2 separate regions of the Homo sapiens genome follow, and region 1 is linked to region 2. Evidence: promoter capture Hi-C in human tissues and cell types (Jung and others, 2019). All regions are on one chromosome and are shown on one strand. Each heading gives the region's core, a stretch centred on a gene start or on the middle of the fragment in contact. The rest is flanking DNA. Distances are from core to core; before and after follow the strand shown. Region 1 has its middle 9.8 kb from the start of WASL-DT. Region 2 holds the start of TMEM229A (transmembrane protein 229A).

Region 1 (6,049 bases), core at 441-2,940, 280 kb before region 2:
GGAGACTGGCCAGCAGTTCTCATAGCAGCATTAGCATCACATGTTAGAAATGCACATTCTCAGGCCCCACTCTTGACCCACTGAACCTGAAACTCTGGGGATAGGACTCATCAGTCTATGTTTTAAGAAGCCCTCCTGGTGATTCCAATAAGTAGACCTTCAAGACGACCTCCAGGGGATGAAATTTACCACCCCCACCAGCCACCTTCCACCCTTTCCCAAGCATATAAGGCTTATGGCATTACACAAACTATGTTTGAATCATATTCTTTTGAGGGGACGGAACTTGTAATGAACCACTGGGATTTATTCTTGTCAGTTTAAGACCTAGATAGGATAGAGTCTGTAGGTGGAATGTCTTCATTGTTCACACCTGGCAAAATAGCTGTAAGGGCAAGCAGGTATTTATTAGCTATAGCTTTTCTGATCTGAGTTCCGATAGTAACTAGCCATGAAATCTTACTAAAATCACTCAACTTCATCATGCTTCTCTTTACTCATTTGTAAAATGAAAGGAATGACTTAATGATTGCTAAGGTCCTTCTCAGCTCAAAATTATATAATCAATCCCATGTATTTTGGATTTTAAAAAAATCCTGCATTTTAAAAAGCAATGGGTAAAAGGCAGTGCATAAGGGAATATAAACAATTTCATGGCTTTTTCACTATTACAAATCCTTTTTTGGTGGTATGAAAATGAATATATAAGCCTTATCATAAGCCTACTCTATTGAAAGAGGGATTGGTAAAGAATACAATCCCCAGAACATAAAAATCCTGCTTTTAGTTACCTCAGAGCAGGAAGGAAGGGTAATTGGTGACTGTGGTTTCATGGAATTATTGATCTAATATTTGCCATTTATATTCAAAACTGGATTGCATGGTACTTGATAGTTGTTACATCAGTCATGATTCTCAGTTCCCTGTGGCTGGAAGTTAGTAGTATTCATTGATTTTTTTGTTTTGTTTTTTAATAGAGAAGGAAACACATTGAACATGCAAACAACTTAGAGTCGATGGTCACATTAGAATAAGTTCCTCATTCCTAGTTTAGGGAGTCATTCCTCTCAATATCTTTACTTAGAATCAGTTTAAAAATTAAATTACATATTCGCTTTCTCACATTCAAATTTCCTTTTAGGAAGATAGAATATTGGCACTTTTCTTTCATCTTGATCCTCTTCATACTGAAGCTATTGTGTGTTTATTATATGTTCTGTTGGACTGGAGCTTTGAACTGATGAAAGAGGAAAGCTATAACAAGCATCAGGGCTGACTTGGTATGTTGACTCAGTTCCCACATAATGATGGTATCTATATGCATGCACATTATAATGTTCTGACACACAGAAGGAAAACGTGTTCCCCTGTCTCAATTTCCTGTTTTAATGCAAGTCCATACAACACCCCAATCTTCCTCAGGATCTCCAAGCACCCTTGGATTTATTGTGTCATAAGGGACAATTCACACACTACCTCACCTCAGCCTGAACTTACTAGAGAGTCTTCTTTTGCTCTCAGTTCCATTGAGAGATAGCAGCATTGTGATCATTGGACAGTGTGATTGAAACAAGGCACTCAACTGTGCCTTCTTGTCATTATCATCCAGAAAGGCCCACCAAGCCTTGTTCTTGCTGGAAAGGCACGAAAGGAATAGCAACATGTCCTTCATTTTGAAGCACATATTTCTGCATGCCTCAGAATAACGGACCCCCAGAAACACCCCTGAGGTATCAGGCTCCTATATTTCATGGCATTTCTATCCCCCAGCATTCATTTATGTGACCAAGGACATAGTGTACTTGCAACTTCCTGCTCTACCGGTCATTTCAGCATGATGTTATTTTGTACAATGAGCTAGTCTGATATCAAGTGGAATAGGAAGATGGTCTAGGATAATTGCCCTCTGCTTAAAAATGAGCTGACCTGTGAGGCACACAACATCCTTCCCATAAATTCCCTTTTGCTTTAGCTAGCCTGGGTCAGATTCTGTTATTTACAAAAACTCTAGGTGATTCTGAACTGGAAACCCTAGGTATTCTAAAATTTGTACCATGAAGGTGGTTACAAGCAACAGATCTTTCAGAAAACTGGGTCATTTGGCACTGTTTACCTGGCTATACTGGAGCAAGAGGTGGTGAAACTCTCATTTATATTCCAAGATGGGAAACTAGCATCAGACAATTACATTACTGCCTCTGGTTATTAGGATCTAGAAACTTCTGAGGTTCTAGAAAGCTTTATGGCCAGGATCAGCAAACTACACTCCACCTATCCTGTTGCCTGCTTTTGTAAATAGAGCTTTTTGGGGGGGACATAGCCATGACCATTCTTTCAGTATTGTCTATGACTGCTTTCATGCTACAACAGCAGAGTTGAGTAGTTGTACCAGAAACCTTATGACCTGCAAAGCCTCAAATGTTTATTATCTGGCCATTTACAGAAAAAGTTTGCCAACCCTTGCTTTAGGTAACTGCATAGTTTTTGCCATCGAATAATAGAAGGGTGAGGAATTCAAGAATTGTGAGATAGCATTAGATAAATTAACCAGTAAGAATGAATGAATGTTGCCTCTGAGGATAGCCTGCTACAGGGATATTTTATGATAATTCTGAAAAAAATATATCCCTGATAGTTACAGGACTGAGACAGCCAAAAGTGAAACTCATGATTTGATCCAGGGCTGCTAAACTAATAATTTATGAATTAAAGTATCTTAAATACTTCATAATGAGATAGGAGATGACCATGAAAATAATTAATAACAAAGACAGTCTATCTTTGTGTAAATTTCTTATAAGAATCATTAAACTTAGGATGTTACTTTTTTTAAAACAAAACAGACAACTGTTCAAGTGTGCTGATCTTTCCAGTGACAAGAAATCACTGTTAGTAGATACTTTTGAAAAAAGAAAAAGAAAGCACACATTTACTATGTGGCTTCAAGGTTTTTAACCATGAGTGAGAAAGTAACTACTTCTCAAAAGAAACTTACATTGTCAAAAGCATGTTTTGAAAACAGTCATTTGGAATCTTGTCCATCATTATGTGACTTTAAAGTTCAAAATGATAAAATATGTCACCTGTAAAAACATGTATTTCTAAACTTAAAAACAATCTTCAAACCTGTTTAAAATTTTTCCAAGTAAAAAAATTTTGGTGTTTTCTTATTTGCTGAAAATATGGAAATGAAATACTTCTCAGTTTGCAAGAAAATTACTATCAAAATTTTAACAAATTTATAACAGGTGAATACAATTGAAAAACATAAGTATTATGCTCAACTAAGCAAATTCATGTGTATTTCTCCCAGGCGGGTGTATATTCATGTGTTTTGTAAAGCGTCCTTTTCAGTTATGGCCACTAAAATATAGTATAGATAAAACTCACCTTATAGCAAAACCTTTGGATCCCATGTCAAAAAGTGTTAAGCCAAATTTTCAAAAATTACGGAGCATATTCAATCACATTGCATGCATTAAAAACTATTTTCTTAATATTTTAGGGCAAGCAAACAATTGTTTTGTTTTACTATTAATTTATTGGCCTTTTTACAGAAACTTCTTTTGGTATCATTGATGTTCTTTATGGTTTTCTGTTTTTTACTTATTTGATCTGTGATCATTAAATATGATGCTAGATGCCATTTATTAAATTGAGGAAGTTCTTTTCTATCCCATCTTCCTGTGAGGTTTTCCTCATAAATTTTGTCAAATGCTTTTTCTGTTTATGTTAAATAAGCTCATATTTTGTCTCCTGTTTAGTCTGTTGATACAGTGAATTATACTGATTTTTATTTTTATTTTTATTATACTTTAAGTTCTGGGATACACGTGCAGAAGTGCAGGTTTATTACATAGGTATACATGTCCCATGGTGGTTTGCTGCACCCATCAACCCGTCGTCTACATTAGGTATTTCTCCTAATGCTATCCCTCCCCTTGCCCCCCACCACCCCCCACAGGTCCCAGTGTGTGATGTTCCCCTCCCTGTGCCCATATGTTCTCATTGTTCAACTCCCACTTATGAGTGAGAACATGCGGTGTTTGATTTTCTGTTCCTGGAATTACACTGATTTTAAAATGTTGAAACAGGCTTGCATTCCTGGGATAAACCCCAGTTGATCATGATATATGATCCCTTTTTAAATATTGCTTAATTCCAATTGTTGATAATCTGTTAAGGGTTTTTGTGCCTATAAAATATTGGTCTAAGAGGATAGATCTCCTCTTCCAGCTCTAACAGCTGAAGGACTTTTCTGATGCTGATTTCCCAGATTTCCAAGTAATTCCAATTCCTCCACGCCCTGACTCTAAACACTGTCATTTCATGTTGAGCTCCCTTATAGTGACCACTGTTAAGATCATCATCTCCCCCAATGCAAAGATCTGCCTTCTGAACCAGAACTTTTCCACAGTGCCTGAAGCTGCACATGCCACCAGTTCCTGTTCATTCCCAGTGGTGAACTGATTTTCAGTTATTTCCCAGATGGTCATAGTGTTCTGTATCCTAATGTAGTTAGCACTCTCTCAACATGGAATTCAGTAATTCTTTGATAGCCTAGGAATTCTTCAAGTGGCAATAAAGGTAACTCAAGCACCCATTAGGTCTGGCATCTCTGTACTCACTGAGCGAAGCACTTTGCTCTTCCTAAGGCCTTCTGCTTTGCTGCGCTCTACATTTCCTTGTTTCCTTTTGCTCCATCAGTGATTCTGAGTCCCTTCTTGCCTATATACATCGTTTTGTTTTCTCCATTGGCTCTTTCTGGTCAATGTATAAATATGTTCAGATATCTCTCAAATTAAAAACTATTTTCATTAAAATAATCAATTTAAATAAGTAAATACCCTGACTGTTACTAATTCGTATCTTTCCTCTTCACAGACAACCTTCTAAAAACAGTAATCTATACTCATTGTCTACTTTCCTTTCTCTTTCACTCATCAAGCAATGTGAGCTTGTTTCCATCCCCAATATTTTAATATTGGGGGTGACATCTAATATTTAATGTGACATTTTTGTCACATAACTAAATGTGAATTGGACATTTTCTTCTTTGCAAGCTCTCTACCATCAATCAATATGGTGTCTATCGGTCCTATGTAGGGTGTCTCTATCCTGCTTATATGATCACTCATTTGCCATTCTCTATGGCTCTGCATCTTAAATATTAATTCCACCCAGAGTTCTATCATTTTGCCTCATTTATTTGGCCTTGAATAGAATAGGGGTCCCCAGAAGATTTAGTGAATAGGTGAATTTTAATTTTTTTTTTTTTTTTTTTTGAGACAGAGTCTCGCTCTGTTGCCCAGGCTTGAGTGCAGTGGCGCGATTTTGGCTCACTGCAAGCTCCGCCTCCCGGGTTTACCCCATTCTCCTGCCTCAGCCTCCCCAGTAGCTGTGGCTACAGGCACCCACCACCACACCCGGCTACTTTTTTGTATTTTTACTGGAGATGGGGTTTCACCATGTTAGCCAGGATGGTCTCAGTCTCCTGACCTCGTGATCTGCCTGCCTCGGCCTCCTGAAGTACTGGGATTACAGGTGTGAGCCACCGCACCCAGACAGGTGAATTTTAACTTTCTAATCCGATTCATCAGAATAATATAAGGTAGCATTACCGAGCACTTACGACATGCCTGACACCATGTTGAATGCTTTAGATACGTTTCCATTTAATTCTTTAGTGGTTTATAAGAGATATTATTAACAGCACGTTTCAGATTTAGAAAACTTGCACAAGGTCAATGAGAGAGGCAACTCCAATCTGAGTCTTTTGACAGCAGAGCCTGTGTTCTTAACAGTGACACTATTAATGTCGACAGCTTTTATTGCCCTCTTTGTGATTCCCAGGTATTTCTCCAAACCTCTCTTCTGAGGTCTGGACTATAGCTACAACTGATAAGTTCCTCAAAGTCATTGTGTACACATCTGTACTCACGATCTTTGTTTAAAATCTTTTCTGTGTTTCCTATCTCAGTGTTTAATACCACCACACTCTCTTTTCCAATTAGAAACCTCAAAAACCATCTTGTCCTCCTATTGCTCA
Region 2 (6,128 bases), core at 480-2,979:
AGTACAAGACATTGAGTTTCTTCAGTCATTGGTAAATATGGCAAGGAATTAAAATGAAATTAGATTAAAAAGAAAGTAAAACAAATCACTGAATCAGAAAATTTAGCCAAATCTTGTAAAAATCACTGGTCTCTGATTTAAAGATCCCCCCCCGCCAAAAAAAAAAAAATTAGTAGCTGTCACTCATCTGTTGCCAGATGGGTAAACACTACTACATCATTCTGATGTTAAGGTATAACGGTTTTGCTGTTTGGGCGTGTAAACGTTTGGGCTTGTAAATGTTTTAAAACATTGGCAAATAAAGTACTTTGAATTATGTTTCGAGTAGTGTTTCAAAGTATATTATACACGGGTTTCAAATAGAAAAACTAAAAGGTGGAATAAAACAATTTGGAAGAGTTTAGTAAAGCGTATAAAAATTAAAGGACTAAAAAACCCACTTCATTTTAAATGTGTAAAAATAAATCGCATCCATTCGTGGGAATCCAGTGACTTTTTCCTTTTCTTTCTTTCTTTTTTGGTTTTAGTTAGCTGGTACGTACTGCACCCTCCACAACACGTTGGAAATTAGGTCCTGGTACACACTAAGGAATATCCAGCCAGGTAAATACATCAGGGTGATGAGGCCCATAAAATTGAGCGGGTAGTGAGAATAGTCCCAGGAACAAGCCCCGCACGTGCGGAGTCCCAGACCCCAGGACAGCTCCCACACGTAGATGAAGATCACGTAGATGGGCACCCGCTTCCAAGTGCCCCAACCGCGGCTGTAGTGGAGGTGGAAGTAGAGCTTTTCCACCACGAAACTGCAGCTGCCGTACATAAAGAAGGACCAGAGCGACGTGTGGCCGCTGGTTGTCCCGTCCCCCTGCCCCAGTACGTTGAAGAAGAAGGTGAAGAAGATCTCATCCAGAAAGCCGTGCATTCCGAAGAAAAGAAAGCGGGGTAGGTCGGGCAGCCCCTGGCTGGGGGCTCCCCCGGCGCCCCTGGGGCCACGGGGTCGTCGCCGCCGGGCTCCGGCCGCAGTAGGGACCCGGGCGCCGGGAGGGACGGGGAGCGCGCCCCTCCGCTGCTGCTGCTGCTGCTGCTGCTGCTGTTGCTGCTGCCGCCGCCTCTGTCGCCCGTACCGCAAGCGCAGGAAGCGCTTCAGGAACACTTGGCAGTGGTAGAGCGCCAGCACGTACTGCAGCGCCAGGTCCAGCGCCCCTGGCGCCACCGCGACCCCCGCCCCGCCGCCCAGGCTGAGTAGTAGCGCCTGGCCCGCTAGGGTCTGCAGCCCCACGTGGGCCGAGGGGTAGAGGAGGAAATTGAAGACGAAGGCGTTGGGACAGCGCCGCTGCTGCAGGTACACCTTCTCCAGGGCGAAATGGGTGAGCGAGTGCAGCAGGCAGCGGTAGGGCGAGGAGAAGCCTAGCATCCGCAGGTCCGGGCTGCGGGCGAAGCGCCGGGCCGAGGACACCAGCACGTCCAGGGTGATCCCGTGCATCCCGTAGAAGTAGAGGCGCATCCAGGCGGGCAGCGTGGCGCTCTCAGCCGGCGCTTCAGCAGTGGACAGCGGCTCCGGGCAGCCGGCTGCCGCCTCGCTTCCTGGCCCGCCAGGGGCCCCCGGACGCCGCGCCGCGCCGCCCCTCCGTGCGGGGCCCTCGCTGTCCACGTCGCTCCCCGCCATGGGCTCGGAGGCTGTCCGAACGCCCGAGGCTGCACCGCCGCCGCTGCCGGGTGCGCGGAGCTGCAGGGCCGAGCGGCCGAGCCCCGCGCCGCCTCCTGGCCGCTGCCGGCCCCCGGGGGGCGCGCAGGGAGCTCCGTCCCGGCCGCGGTCCCGCGGCAGCGGGGGCTGATGCACTCAGGGGACTCGCGGGCCGCCCGGCTAGCGGAATCCCCCCGCCGTGGCCCCGCTGCGCCCTCCCTTCCAGTCCCGGGCGAGGTGCCGCCCGCCCGCGCCCGCTCTAGCTCTCACCCTGCGCGGCCTAACGGGCACCGCGGCCCAGCCAGGGGAGGCGGCGCCGGGGCTGTGAGGGGAAATGCAGAAGCTTGTGGAAGCCCCATCCCCTCCGCTGCTTAGCCCCGCGCCTCCGCTGCAGGCTCTGGGAACGTAACGCGAGCAGCGGCGGCCCTGCCCCCGCCCTGCCAATGCCCCTCTCCGCCTGCCTCGACCTCTCCCGCCTTCTCAGGCCGCCCCCACGCGCCCGCCCGCCGCACCGAGTCCCACAGGGTCTGCTCGGGAAGGCCCGGCCCTGCTTCTTCCTCCCGGTGCGCCCACTCAACACAGGGGCTCCGGTCGTGCGGGGGGCGCTTGCTGGGCGGAGGCACTGAGTGGAGAAACACCTAACAGGTGTGACTGCAAGTTGATGGGCATTCCCTGCATCGCGGCAATCAGGGCCAGGGCCTGGCTGGCGGAGACGAATGGCTGAGTGCCACGGGCTGGAGGCTGGGCTCAAGACCAAAATATGGTGCTGTATACTTAATGTTCTTATTCAAAGCCAGCTGTGTCCCAGTCATAGAGAATAAACTCGAGACTCCACGCCTGCCCGCCCCTGCGTTACCCTCCATCTAAATTGCTGCCGCGGGGCCTGATCCACTTTTCCAATCTATTTCTTGGCCCATCTACTTTTCTGGGTTTACTCAAGGCCAAGGACAGAGATTCGATGTCCCCCAGAATTTGTGAAATGATTTCAGGCCAGTTGGGTTGGGTTGGGGTGTGGAGAAGAGGAAATGCTTTGTTCTAGCTACTGTGGGGTCTCAGGTGGAGAATAGTACCTCGTCCTGGCACACCCCGCTGCTGGGTTCTTCTTTTGGCAGAACTAGGTCATCCCAGAAATGGAGAGTGACATAAAGGGCCAGGGTTTATCTTTTTCTATCTTTTCCCTCCCTCCCTTCACCTCTCCCCTCTTCTCCCTTCCCTCATTCCCTACTTCCTCCCCTCCCCTCCCCTCCCCTCCAATCCCTCCCTCCCTCTCTCTCTCCCTTCCTCCCTCTTTATCTCCTTCCTTCCTTCCTTCCTTCCTTCCTTCCTTCCTTCCTTCCTTCCTTGGTTGAGAGAGTGGAAGGGGTTCAGAATGTTGGTGTGTTGGTTCCACCATTCTCTCCAATTTTGAATCAGTCTTGGAACTGGAAAGAGCCTCGGGGGTGAATTATACCGATTACCTCCCTCTTTCTCCTCCTTCCCCCGAAATTCATGTGCGGATAGATAACAGTTCTGTGTTAGAGTTTAGATCCTCCCTTGATGAAAGGCTTTCTGGGGAATTTTTTTTTTTCCTTCTGGCGAATAGACATAATGAGGCTGATCCTCTATTTCTAAGGCAACCTCCTCCTCACGCTGTCTCCTTGCCTATTTCAGCCCCTCACGTTCCAATCTGTGGTAGCTAAGTTGACTGTGAATTAAGAGAAACTTTCATGTCAGGGACAGGAATGTCAGGAAGTTTTCATGTGAGGGACAGAAATGTCAGGTAGCAGGTTCATCAAACTTGTTGCAAACCAGGTTTGATCTAGTTGCCCAAGTGCCTGAGCAAATACATTGAAGGGAAATAATGTAAACATTTTTGTGAGCACCTTGCTATGCCTACACTGGGAAAATAAAGGGTTATAAGATGCTCTCTTTAAGAAGTGTGTAATCTAGTTAAAATGATAATAATCTATTATGCCTTCATAAAGCCTACTTATGATTATTATCAATAATAACTGATCGTGATCATTTAATAGTAAATACTAGATGTTTGTACTACTAGATTAATGTTTATTTTGAGTTTTTATTTCATTAAATAAACTCAATCCTGGGCCCAATTTATCAGATATTACAAACAAATGCACTCTTTCTCCATAACTGCTATTTAGACAACGGAAAGCACTTCTTCATAACACCATAAATGTAGTCATTCAAACATGTATATGCTAACTTGCTATATTAAACCTGAATTGTTTTCAAATAGCAAATTAAACTTCAAGGGCCCAAGTCTTCTATTTATTCTAACTTTTCTTAAGGATGCAAGGAAAATCTTGAAAATCTGTCGTCCAACCTAGAATTCATCCCAGGGAGTGTAGGAAAATCTTTTGGATTAAAAAAAAATTAGAGCTTTCATTTCTGTATTTTTAATTTCAGCATTTAAAAATTTCTATTTTGTATACCTTATATATTTTATAAATTACACAGTATAATAGAACATGTATAAAATTTATGTGTGTGTATATATACATATGAAACATTAAATTTTTTAATGAGGAGTATTCAATAAAAAGTTTGGGCTCACTACTGTCCTCACAGTAGTTCTCTATCAAGTGGGTTAGACTACTAAAAATCTTCTCATTCTTTTGGTTCTTTTTCTGAAATGGTTTTCCATTTTTCTTAGGAGAAATCATACAAAATATAAATGAACAGTTAGAAAAGCATAGTAGAAAGTGCAGCTATGATCTGTTATTCTCTCCATGTTTCTTTTATATTTTCATTGTGGCCTCTTAGTTAGACCATTTCGGAATGTGAGTGAAACTAACTTAAAAAAGTAAACAAACAGACAAACAAAAAAAACTCGGCATAAGACAAAGTATAAGAAAAATGCTCATGGTATATATCACCTTTAATTCTTTTTTTTGGTCTCATTTAAAAAATCAGTATTCTGTGCCATTCTTACCCCAGCAATGATGCCAACCTTTGTTTTTGCTTTATCATCACATTGTTCTTTTTGTTTTACGTGCTTCATTGCTATATTTCTAAAACTATTCTTCATTTTAAAACTGCAGGATAGCTTTAGTGATCATCATCATTTTATATTAAAAATCCTCACATTAGAGTCTCTATGAACATAAAAAGATTAAAAGCATTTCTTGCTGGTCTTTGCAGCTGTATGCTGTCGGGGCCAAGGGAAAACCTTCCTCTTTGCTCTGTGAATGTTCACTGAAAATCATGGACAAGAGGCAGATTAATTGGAGAAAAGGCTTACAAATTAATGTGTACATGGAGGCCCTCAGAGTGAAGACCTGAAGATACAGGGGGAATTGTCTATTCTTTTGCTTAGGTTCAACAAAGTATGGACAGTTGTGTCTGTACATTTTGTCCAAATGTGATTGGAAAAAAGAGTATGATCTAAGGCTAACAGACTGAGTGGGGAAAACTCAGCAAGGCCTGTCTGTCGAGAATCTTCTTGGCCTCCCTGAGCATACATTCTCTTCTTCTGGGTATGGAGCAGACACTCTCTGGAATGGGGATCTTATGACCATAGTCAAAAAAAGGTAGGTTGGATAACTTCTTGATGGCCAGTGTTTACACAGAAAGGCAGAGGGAAAGTTAGAGTAATAGTTTTAGGTTTTTGGCTGGCTTTGAGGAAAAGGGGTTTTGGTGACTATGGCCTGCCTTGGGGAAGAGGGATGCTAGTTTCTGTGGCTAGCCTGGTGGGGAATGGGACTGAGAGATAGAGGGGAGGTGAAAGTCAGAGAAAAACTTTTGTTTCTCAGGCTGCTTCCAAGGCTTTCATTGTGGAGTCTTGTTTTATGAGTCCCAACATTGCATTAGGTTGCAAAAGTACATCTGTAAACCCAGCAAATTTGAGAGTTGGTGGATATGAGGATAAAGGGAGTTTAAAAGTAAGAAACAGGAAACAACAATGAAACAGCATCATTGAGATTCCTTAGGTCTGGGGGCAGCCATTCAAAGAATACTTTGGGATGTTTTTCATCTGTGGTAAACACAGGCATCTTTGACCTCAGGGACTAAGAAGCTGTTTGGGAAACCATCTCTACAATGGTGTAATAGTTCATGTGGCATAAATACTGACTGGCCAAGTTGACTATAAACTGGTACAACCCCTGGAACAAGGGTCATCAGTGTGACCATGGAGAAATTTGAGAATTAGTACAAGGGCCCTTCGGAGGCTCACGATCATCTTTAATGAATTGTTGCCTAGTGGCCATAGGTTCAAGGTTGTCTTTTAGATGGATGGCAAGCCTGAGATCTTTCATTGCATACCAGAAGAACAGAAGGCAGGTGCATGGAGAACACAACATTAAGAAGACAGCTAAAGAGAAGTTCAATTGGGCAAGACATGAATGTAGTGATAGAGAAAACAGCAGTCATATTAGCAGTAGATATACAAACCCACAAACTTTTCTTTTTCCTTTCTTTTTTTTTTCTTTTCTTTTTTTTT

Evidence for each region. Contacts are between HindIII fragments. The study calls those that stand out against the background at their distance.
Region 1: a fragment that was not itself captured here is called in contact with the fragment with the promoter of TMEM229A in region 2 in 1 of the 25 tissues and cell types used here (mesenchymal stem cells).

What each region holds. Positions count from the first base shown.
Region 1 is chr7:123,755,955-123,762,003 of GRCh38, forward strand. No RefSeq gene overlaps it. Among named protein-coding and RNA genes, the nearest start is that of WASL-DT, 9.8 kb to the left of the region's middle. The HindIII fragment of the contact is 6,870 bases long and covers 1-5,125 here.
Region 2 is chr7:124,031,338-124,037,465 of GRCh38, forward strand. TMEM229A (transmembrane protein 229A) reads right to left here and starts at 1,730. Exons shown (of 1, transcript NM_001136002.2): 1 at 1-1,730. The coding sequence starts at 1,666. The coding sequence ends at 524. The HindIII fragment of the contact is 14,772 bases long and covers 1-6,128 here.